2 separate regions of the Homo sapiens genome follow, and region 2 is linked to region 1. Evidence: promoter capture Hi-C in 16 types of primary human blood cells and fetal thymus (Javierre and others, 2016). All regions are on one chromosome and are shown on one strand. The core of a region is centred on a gene start or on the middle of the fragment in contact, and the rest is flanking DNA. Distances in the headings are between cores, read along the strand shown.

Region 1 (4,898 bases), core at 1,259-3,758:
GAAACCTCGTCTCTACTAAAAATACAAAAATTAGCCAGGCGTGGTGGCGGGCGCCTGTAATCCCAGCTACTCAGGAGGCTGAAGCAGGAGAATGGCATGAACCCAGGAGGCGGAGCTTGCAGTGAGCCGACATTGCACCACTGCACTCCAGCCTGAGCGACAGAGCAAGACTCCGTCTCAAAAGAAAAAAAAAAAAAAGAAACAGAGGCCGGGTGTGGTGGCTCATGCCTGTAATCCCAGAATTTTGGGAGGCCCAAGTGGGCAAATCACGAGGTCAGGAGTTCGAGACCAGCCTGGCCAACATGGTGAAACCGCGTCTCTACTAAAAAATACAAAAATTAGCCAGGCGTGGTGGCAGGGGCCTTAATCCCAGCTACTTGAGAGGCAGAGACAGGAGAATTGTTTGAACCTGGGAGGTGGAGGTTGCAGTGAGCAGAGATCGAGCCATTGCACTCAAGCGTGGGGGACAAGAGTGAGACTTCTCTCAAAATAAAAATAATAAAAAATAAAAATACAAAAAAAAAATTAGCTGGGTGTGGTGGTGGGCACCTGTAATCCCAGCTACTCAGGAGGTTGAGGCAGGAGACTCACCTGAACCAGAAGGCGGAGGTTGCAGTGAGCAAGATCATGCCACTGCACTCCAGCCTGGGCAACAGTGCAAGACTCCATCTCAAAAAAAAAAAAAAAGAAACACAGAGGTCAAGTGACCTGCCCAAAGTCACACAGTTTGTAATGAGAGGAGCTGGAATTTGAACCCGAGTAGTCTCGCCCCAGTCAGTGCCCCTAACTATCACCTATGCTGACTACAAAGAAGTGCTGGCTTCCTAGATTCCCCTTCACAACCACCCTCTGGGGAGTGGTGGTGGGGTAAAGGGGAGGTGAGCAGAGCAGCTGACCTTCCTAACCACCTCCACAGATCTCCAGGAGCCACAGCGTGGGAGAAGATGCTCAGCCTCACTCTCCTGGGAAGGCCTCCAGCTCAAGCGGGGAGGCTGGACAGGAACCAGCTTCCTGCATGTCAGATCCCAGGCCCTGTCCAGAGCCAGGCCTCAGTCTTCCAGGATGGAACATGGCCTCCCCACCTCGGACTCCTTGCCCAGAAGCTAGACCTCAGTTTCCCGGCCTTGGTTTCCTAGCAGCGCCCCAGGCCAGAGGCTGCACCAGTCTTCCAAGGCAGCACAGCGCTTTGGTCATTGGCTCTGAGATTTCCAGACAGGCTGAGAAGCAACACCACCGCCGCCGCCATCCACTCTCATCTCTCTGACCCCAGGAAGTGGGCCAGCATCGTTCCCTCTCGGCAGCCAACTGAGATCCCTGGGTGATTCAGCCTCTGTCCCTGACATGATAATTACACCAACAGCAATTCCCAGAACCCCAGCTATTGTCCTATATCACCCCACCCCTCCTCTTGTCTCCTGTGCTGTAACACGAGGGCAGACACTCTGCTTCTCCCCAGAGACATTTGTCCTTTGCTCCAAGCACACAAAAAACTGGGAAGCCCTTCCCACTGTCTGACCTTCAAAGGCCCTGCTGCTGCTAAGCTGCTTCTCCCTACTCCAAGAAAAGAAGAGCTCCTTAAGGAAGGGGAACAGCCCACCCGGGACAAAACAGACAAAGGCCACACCCCAGGAAGGTCTTTCCCACACAAACTTGGGAGGGGAGGCATCTCTGCAGACAACAGGACAGACACAGCACGAGGCAGCCGAGGCTGTCGTTTATTGCAGATGGACACGGATTCAGGGAGGTGAAGAGGCAGATGGGCTGTGGGCTCTGTGCTCAGCATCCCACAGCAGGAGGGGCAGGAGACAGAGCTCAGGATGGGATCTTCCTGATGGTGGAGGACCCGGCCTGACCACAGAGTAGCTGCAAGAGGCAAGGCCCCGAGCTGACACCCCCTGGGCCCCCATTCCGCGGGATGACGGCTCCAGAGACGCTGAGCGATGTCATTAGGAAGAAGGCCGGACCAATCCAGAGACGGTGCATCCTCGGCGTGGAGCACAGAGCTCTCGAGGGCTGGCGATCCGGGTTGGGGTGGAAGGGAGAGTTACCCGGGTCTTCGCCCCTCCGCGGCCTCTGGCGTCTCTCTGGGTGTCTGGCGGCTCGGACGGCGGTCAGGGTCGCTGTAGCGGCGGCGGCGGCTCAGCGGCAGCTGGAGCTGGGGTCGCGGCCCGCCGGGGACTCCCAGGAGGCAGGAGAGGGAGGCAGCGGCGGGCGCCGGGACAGGCGGCACGCCCGGGCGGGCAGCACACGGAGGGGACGGCGCGCTGGGCTGTGGGCCGGCGGGTGCCGCGGGAGACCGCGTGGGTACCCAGATGAGACCGTAGTACACGGCGAGCAGCACGGCAGCTAGCGAGACGCAGAGGAAGTAGGCGCATACCGGAGCCAAGCGCAGCCAGCGCCCCCGCGGGCCCTCGCTCAGCCCCGCGCCTCCGGGGCTCTCGGCGCCGCCGCCCACGCAGCTGGTCCCCCGCATCCCCGCAGCCCACTCGGCTCCGCGCCGCAGACCGCACAGGCCCCGCCCCCACCAGGCCCCGCCCCCACCCCGCAGACCGCCCCGCTCTCTAAACCGCCCGCCTCCGGCCCCGCCCCCGCCAGCATGGTCACGCCCCCACGCGAGCTGCCGCCTCCGCATCCTAGGCCCACCCCCTCCAGCCTCCGCCCCACCACCGACAGGCGGAGGTGCTACCCCGCCCCCCTCGCTCCAGCCCCGCCCCCGCGCTTAGCCCCACCACCCCAATCACCGCCTCCTCCCGCCACAACACGGTTCTCTTCCCAGACTCGGACTTCATCCAGCCCAGGCATCTAGCCCGCCTCGGAGCCCGCCCCCTCGTCCCGCTCAAGCCCTGCCTGGAGCCCTAACCCGCCCTGTGCCGCAGCCAGTCTCACTTCTCTACCTGTCGGACTGCTCTACTCCAGTGCTCGAGCCCTGCCCGCTACGGCCTCTGGCTCCCACACTCTAGTTCCGGAATCCCCGCTCTCCTCCCGCGCGGGTTCCCGCGCGACACCCCGACCACGCCCCCGCTGACGGCCCCGCCCCATGCCCATGGCCAGAGCCCCACCCGCGCGCGCTGACCCCGCCCCCCGCTCTAACTCCGCCTGTCAGGATTCCGGCCCCGCCCAGGCAGCCTAGCTCCGCCCCCGCGGGACCCGCCTCCTCCAGCACACTCTCAGCCCGCTTTCAGGTATCCTCAGCACCTCAGGCCCCGAGGTTCCAGCTCCGCCCCTCACCGCAATCGCGCCCCTTCTCCCAGCTCCTCCCCAACGGTCAGCTTTTCCCTCTCCCTAGAGCCAAGGGGTCCAGACTAGGCTCTGGGGTAGAAAGAACACAGCCTGGAAATCCAGATAAACCCCTCCTCACGCCCCCTCCCCATCAAGGCGGGGAAGCTTCAGTCCCCTCCCAGCAGCGTCTTCAGGAATTCGGGGAGGCCTGCGGGAGGGGGGAGGGAAGACGGATCAGAAGGGTGGAGGAAGACCCCTTCCTTCCGCCTCTTCCGCCACAGAAAAGCCCGCCAAGCACAGCGACCCAGCCTGCCCCCTCCAGAAACACAGTTCAAGGGTGAGCGGAAGCACTGCGTTTAATACGACAGGGCTGGCGCCCGAGTAATTCAAGCCCTTCGGAAGTGTCACCGGCTGCCAGGCCTCGGATGCAATCCTGGAGGCGGGAGATTCGGCCTGAAGACTGGCTCGAGCCGCCCAGGGCCTCCATGGGAGACTAACGCGGAAGCGTCCCAGCCGTCCCAGTGCCGTGACGTCCCCCGTTGGTGGGGCCTGCACCCGACTACTGCCCTGGCCCCGCCCGGCTCGCAGACCCTGGCTCCTCCCCCCTTAGATTTAACCCTCTCCTGGCTGGAGTGTGGCAGAAGCAGAGGACAGAGGAGCGAGGCGGTGGGAGGTTAGTGCAGAGCGCGGAGGCCGCGGTCCGGCGGGCGCGGTCAGCGAGCGGCCCCCGGCAGCGGAGGGGCCGCCACCACCTTGCAGAAACGCACCCTCTGGAAGTCGGTGATCTCCGCCGTCTCCTGGCCTTCGGGGCCTGCCTCTGAGGAGAGAAGGGGCTGAGTCAGCGGAGGGGAGCAGTCTTCCCACCTCCCCCCCGGCCCAGCACCCCTCCCCCGTCTAGCCACGTCTCTCATCCAGTTCGAGCCCTTGCCACAGCAGGCTCGGCGCTAAGCGGTTTACGGGGCCCAGACTAATCCTCTCAGCGGACCCACGCAGCAGCAAACACTCCCAACATAACCGTTTACAATCGAGGAAACGCGGGTGTGGCGAGATCTGGCTCCCGACCAACAAGTGGCCCAAGACAGAGGGTCTGGGCCCCCGCGCCACCCAAGGCTGCAAACTGTCCTCTCCCACCCCCGCCCCATCTCACGGCCTTCATCAACCTCCACCAAGCCAGTCCTAGAGGACCCGCCCTCCCCTTTCCTTCGCCAACGCCTGCTATTCTAACCAGTCCTTCCTTGGCTCTGCCCCCAAAATCCTAATCCCACTCTGGGGGAAGGGGAGGCCATCTGAGATTCGAAATCTTACTCCTACGGAGTGTAGGTGGAGAGGGGCTTGGCCTCTTGCTCGCACTTCGTCGGTCCCAAAATGCTGATCGGGTACGCATGTCTATTCTAATTTGCCCCACTAGGTTGCACCTCGGAACTCTAATCCCAGCCACAGTTAAATCCAGTTTTCTGCCCTTGCCCATCTCTTTGGCCTTTTCGAGCCAGTTCAAATTTCGTAGTCTGCCTATAGCTCCTGCCCTAGTACACCAACGCCAACCACCTTTTTTGAGACGGAGTCTTGCTCTGTCGCCCAGGTGGGAGTACAGTGGAGCGATCTCGGCTCACTGCAGCCTCCGCCTCCCAGGTTCAAGCGATCCTCCCGCCTCCCAATTAGCTGGGATTACAGGCATGAGC
Region 2 (4,898 bases), core at 1,454-3,953, 560 kb after region 1:
AGAGACGGCTTTCTTGTGCCCCTCCCTGGGGCATGGAGGGTGGAGTGGGCCTCGGGTCCCCCTGAACTCCCTGTATATCTGTATAAATAACGGGATTTTCATGGCGCCGCCCCACCCGCATTATCACTGTGTGATGGTCTCAGTCAGTCTCCTCCCTGTCTCCACTCTTTCCCTCTATTTATTTCACTCTCTTGTTTGGTTCTACCCTGCACCCTCGGTCCCCTTCCAGGTTCCTGTTTATAAGCCCCAACCCCTCTGTCCCCATCTTGTATGTGAAAACTTGTCTCAATAAACCCTTTGGAGTAAGATGGGTGACGGTGCCATCTGTTGAGGGCACTGGGGACTTTGGGGGAGGAGTGACCGGCTCTGCCTGGGTTGGGTGGAGTTTGGAGAGAGGGGATATGATGGGTTGGGGTTTTGTGGTAGGGCAGCAGGGGCCGGAGACGGGCCCAGAGCTTGGGTGGGGTGTGGGTGGAGAGAAGTGGAGGCACTGGACCGAATCTCCTTGTGCCCTTTCTGTCCCTAAGTGCTCCCTCCCCAGGGGTAGAGCCCTGGGGAGCAGATACTATGATGACAGTCCAGCTGAAGCCTCAGCCCCGCCTGGGATGTGTGAGGGTGGTGGCGAGGCCAAAGGGCTGGTGCCCAGAGGACGTAAACCCCCTTCCTGTTCCCATCCCAGGCCCACAAGGAGCAGGGAGGGAAAAGGCTGCACCTGCCAGTGGAGGATGATGGCTTTGGGGCGCAGGCTCCTCCATGCTGGGAGGAGGTGCCGCAGGTGCCCGAGCCCTCGTGGCTCATGTCCTGATGCGTCCCTCCTTTCCCTTCTCAGTGGTCCACGTCTACTGTACTGAGTGCTTTACATGGCATTTCACTGGGTCCACAGCCTTAAAAAGAGGGAGCAGGTGTCCACATGCTCCAGATGAGACGGAGGGGACCGCTGCTCCTGTCTCGAGGAGGCTTCCACCACCTACCAGCCAGGCGTCCTCGGTAATCCTAGCACCTCTGCCACAGGGCACTAATGCCCAGTTCCTGGGTTGTAAAGGGCTGTGCCCCAGTCCCCCAGCAGGCCCCAGTGAACATACGAGAAAGGATGGAGGCCGCTGTCTGGACACTCAGGACATGGCAGCGTTTTGCTGGGACAGTCATCTGCCCTTCAGGAAAAAGGGTGCAGGTGGGCAGGAGGCCCTTAGATGACGCCAAGGGGAGCCTTCGTGGGCTCCACGTGGTGTGCTCCCTGCCCATCCCTCTGGGCTCAATGCAGTTCCCCAGGTGGTGGTTTGGGTTTTCACTCCAGCCTCAGACTTCCTTCCTCAGCCCCAGCCCCCGGATGTGGTGACAGAATCGATACTGTACCGACCTCAGCTACCCCCAACGGCCGTACACCAGGAAGAGGGGCTCTTCTGGCAGCCCCCATCCTCAGCCAGCCCTGCCATTTCCAGTCCTGCCAGCATCCCAGCCAGACAGGTGGCCCTTCTCTTAGAGCTCAAACCTAGGCCTTGACTTGTCAATCAAAGGGGTGGGTGGGGCAGCTTCCCTCAAGCAACTTCACTCTGGGATCTTGGGCAAGACGTTTTGCTTCTCTGAGGCTTCAGCTTATTCTGTGTAAACTAAATGGTAGCCACTATTTGATTATTAGCTGGGGAGGAGAGATCAAGCCTGACCCCTGTAGCGGCTGGAGTTTTACAGCAGGGCCCACCCAGCACCCAGTAGGTCCTCACAGATACTTGCTGGGTGACTGAATGGGTGTGCCCACCCATCAAAGCCTGAGTGCTGGAGGTGGCCACCCCTTTCCGCGTATTATCAGAGACAACCACCTCTTACTGAACTGCTGCGTTTCCAGGCACCAGTATACCATGGCATCGGCTCCCACCATCCCATGTGGGGTCAGTCCTATTACAGTCCCAACAGATGGAGGGACTGAGGCTCACAGAGAAGCCACTCACCCAAAGTCACATGGAGAGAAAGACACGCACACGTACTCCACATCCCCAGGAGACACACTCTGCATCTATGAAGTGGTATGGGTGTGCTGTCCTCCCTCGGGGCAGCCCCACACTATCCTAAGGCGGGGTTGGGGTGGGCGGGGGGATGGACCCTCCCCACCCATCCAGTTAGCGCCATGCACCTTGCCCACCATCGCTGGAGACAGACCTAAGGCGAGCCCCTTCCTACCCATCTGGAGGCCTCGGTCTTTCCATGTGTTAAATGGGCTGGGGCCGGGGGACGCTCTGCAGCACCCCCTTCCCTGGGCTGGGACGCGGCGGGGAGGGCAGGGGTGACGCTCGGAGAACAGAGAGGCCGAACCCAGAGAGCGGGCCGGGACCTGATACCGATTTCCCACCCGTCCCCTGCCATGGGCGCCGGACGCCTGCCGGAGAGGGCTCCCCTCCTTAAAGGGCCAGTGGCCTCCAAGCCCGACGCCTGCGACCGGCGGTGGGTGATAGTGTTTCCCCTCCCTGTCCAGCCGAGGGAAAAGTTAACTTTCCAGGCTTGGCTGTGTTCAGGGAAGGAACTGGTCTCGCCTGCCTGCCCTCCATCCCTCACACCATCCCTTGTCCCGGACCCTGGAGGCGGAGGTCCAGCCCCCAACTCGGAGGCCCCGGGCCCACCCTCCCCTTCCGCCCCCGGCCCCTCGGCAGGCTCCGCCCCTCTCTGACGTCGCCGAGGCCCGCGCCGATTGGTCGACTGCACTGTCGCTCCGGACACTTCCTCCTGGGCCGCCGCCGCCGCCGCCGACTTAAACTTTGGAGGGGGAAAAAGAGCTACTGGCGCCTGGCGACCCTCCCTGCCCCCCACCCAACCCCGCTCCGGCAACGCCCCCTTCCTCACGGCTCCCGACCGAACTTTTCTCCAACTTCTGCGACTCGTGAGATTCCCTTCTACCCACTCCGGCCCTCGGGACCCCTCTGCCCATCCCCTGGCCGGTCGGGTCCCTGCGAACCCCTTTATCTCTGGAATCCACTCGGTCCCCGACTCAGAGACTCCTGCCCTCCACCCCCAAGGTGAATTCCCCCGGGCCGCCTTCTGAGTGGGATCCTCTTCTTGGAGCACTGGATCCTGGGATTCCCTCTGCCCCCTTCTCAATCCCTCCTCTAGGGAAGGGGCCTTTGAATCGCGGGCTCTCCTGATCCCTGTGACCCCGACCTACTAGATTTCCTCTCAGGCTTCTTGGAATCTCAATCGCTGGGACCTCCAACCCACTACTTTTCTCCTTTCTGATCTTCTGGGAGCCCTGGATTCCGGGCCTCTGACCCACTATAGTGCCTTTCTCTCCTTCCCAGGACCCCGCCATCCTCAGGTCCCCTCCGCCTGCCAGATCTTTTCTCGGATCCCCGCTCTCCCACCACCTGCTCACGAGATCCCGCGGATCTAGAACCCAGGGTCCCCCGGGGCCCCCCGGCCGGGTCCCGGGTGGGCTCCAGGCGGCCGGTCCCCGGCCTCCCCCCATGGCCACCGCCCCCTCTTATCCCGCCGGGCTCCCTGGCTCTCCCGGGCCGGGGTCTCCTCCGCCCCCCGGCGGCCTAGAGCTGCAGTCGCCGCCACCGCTACTGCCCCAGATCCCGGCCCCGGGTTCCGGGGTCTCCTTTCACATCCAGATCGGGCTGACCCGCGAGTTCGTGCTGTTGCCCGCCGCCTCCGAGCTGGCTCATGTGAAGCAGCTGGCCTGTTCCATCGTGGACCAGAAGGTGAGGGCGCAGGCTCCCTGGATCCAGCTCGGGGAGAGGTTGAAGGAGGGGGCGCTGGCAGAGGGGTCTGGGGCCTGGTGTGCGGAAGAGGGAGGAAGGAGACCTGAGCTTTGGGTGATGGAGGGATAGGGGGCATTGCCCCCCTCCATTGCCCCTCTCCCCACCATCCCTTTGAGAGAGGACTGGGCAGGGGTGGGGTGCCCCAGAGGCCTCCCCAAATTTCATGTCCCTGCATGTCGTTGTTTTCTGCAGCAAACAGGGAGGAAGGGAGGGGCCAGCCAGGTGTAGAGAGGGGAGGAAGGGGCAGCAGATGTCGGCGGACCTCCACGTCCAGGCCCATCCCGGGCCTCCCATTTGGTGGAAACAGGAGAAATTGAACCCGGGCTGGCCATGGTGATCCGGTGACATGTGTGGGTGCAGGTGCTTGAGTTAGCTGCCAGGGGCAAGTGAGGTCTCGGAGCCCAATTCTGCCCTCCCCTAAGCCTGAGATATGTGTGGAGGGGCAGGCACTCCTACAGACCCTGGGGACTCTATTCCCTTTCCTAGTCACAGTGCTGTTAGCCTACTCTTAATTTTGGACACCAGGGTCCCCAGGGTGGGCAGCTGGGTGTTATGGCAAGAGGAAACCAGGTGGAACTCCACGTCTAAACCGTGAAATGTTAAAAGAATAGTGGGCTTCTGTGTTGGAGTACTGGACTGTAGAAATGTTAGAATATTAGAATCATAACTTGTTGGAATATGCATCCTAGGCAATTAAATTGCCCCCATGTTCGTGTTCAAATATTAGAATTCTAGGTTTGTGAAATAGTAAAACATTAAAATGCTGGAATATTAGATTCCTAGATTGTTGAATCCTAGAAAGTTAAAATGTTAGAATTTTAGAATGCTGGATGGATGAGGTCCTTGAATGCTAAAGAATTCAAAGAGCACAGTCCTAGCTTGTCAGACTCCTAGAATATTAAAATATTAGATTACCGCTTATTTAGGTTATTGAAATCCTAAAATGTATAGTGATACCAGGTAGGAATCTAGAATGTATAATTCTATAATGTGAGCATGTTGGAGTCCCAAAATATCCAAATTCCAGAATCTTTTCAGACTCCTGGAAATGAATCCTTTGGGCATCAGAGAAACGTGGGGAACTGGGCCAGCTCCCCCATTCTACAGACAAGGAAACTGAAGCTTAGAGAAAAACTTCCCAAGGGGTCAGGG

What was found. The method cuts DNA at HindIII sites, captures the fragments that hold promoters and counts their contacts. A CHiCAGO score of 5 or more calls a contact.
Region 2: a contact is called between the fragment with the promoter of PRKD2 here and the fragment with the promoter of INAFM1 in region 1, in 4 of 17 cell types (fetal thymus, total CD8 T cells, neutrophils and 1 more). The highest score is 7.3, in fetal thymus.

The regions. Positions count from the first base shown.
Region 1 is chr19:47,272,495-47,277,392 of GRCh38, reverse strand. It overlaps INAFM1 (InaF motif containing 1), which reads right to left and starts at 2,508. Exons shown (of 1, transcript NM_178511.6): 1 at 1,670-2,508. The coding sequence starts at 2,473. The coding sequence ends at 2,045. It also overlaps a transcript of CCDC9 not described here. RefSeq lists silencers at 2,137-2,586, 2,947-3,206, 3,817-4,126. The HindIII fragment of the contact is 4,952 bases long and covers 1-3,386 here.
Region 2 is chr19:46,714,919-46,719,816 of GRCh38, reverse strand. It overlaps PRKD2 (protein kinase D2), which reads left to right and starts at 2,703. Exons shown (of 18, transcript NM_016457.5): 1 at 2,703-3,686. The coding sequence starts at 3,447. LOC107987269 reads left to right here and starts at 95. Exons shown (of 4, transcript XM_017027568.2): 1 at 95-1,171; 2 at 1,315-1,464; 3 at 1,841-2,018; 4 at 2,640-3,283. The coding sequence starts at 754. The coding sequence ends at 3,006. It overlaps STRN4 (striatin 4), which reads left to right. Exons shown (of 18, transcript NM_013403.3): 18 at 1-306. RefSeq lists an enhancer at 1,408-1,457 and silencers at 2,578-2,737, 2,758-2,807. The HindIII fragment of the contact is 18,729 bases long and covers 1-4,870 here.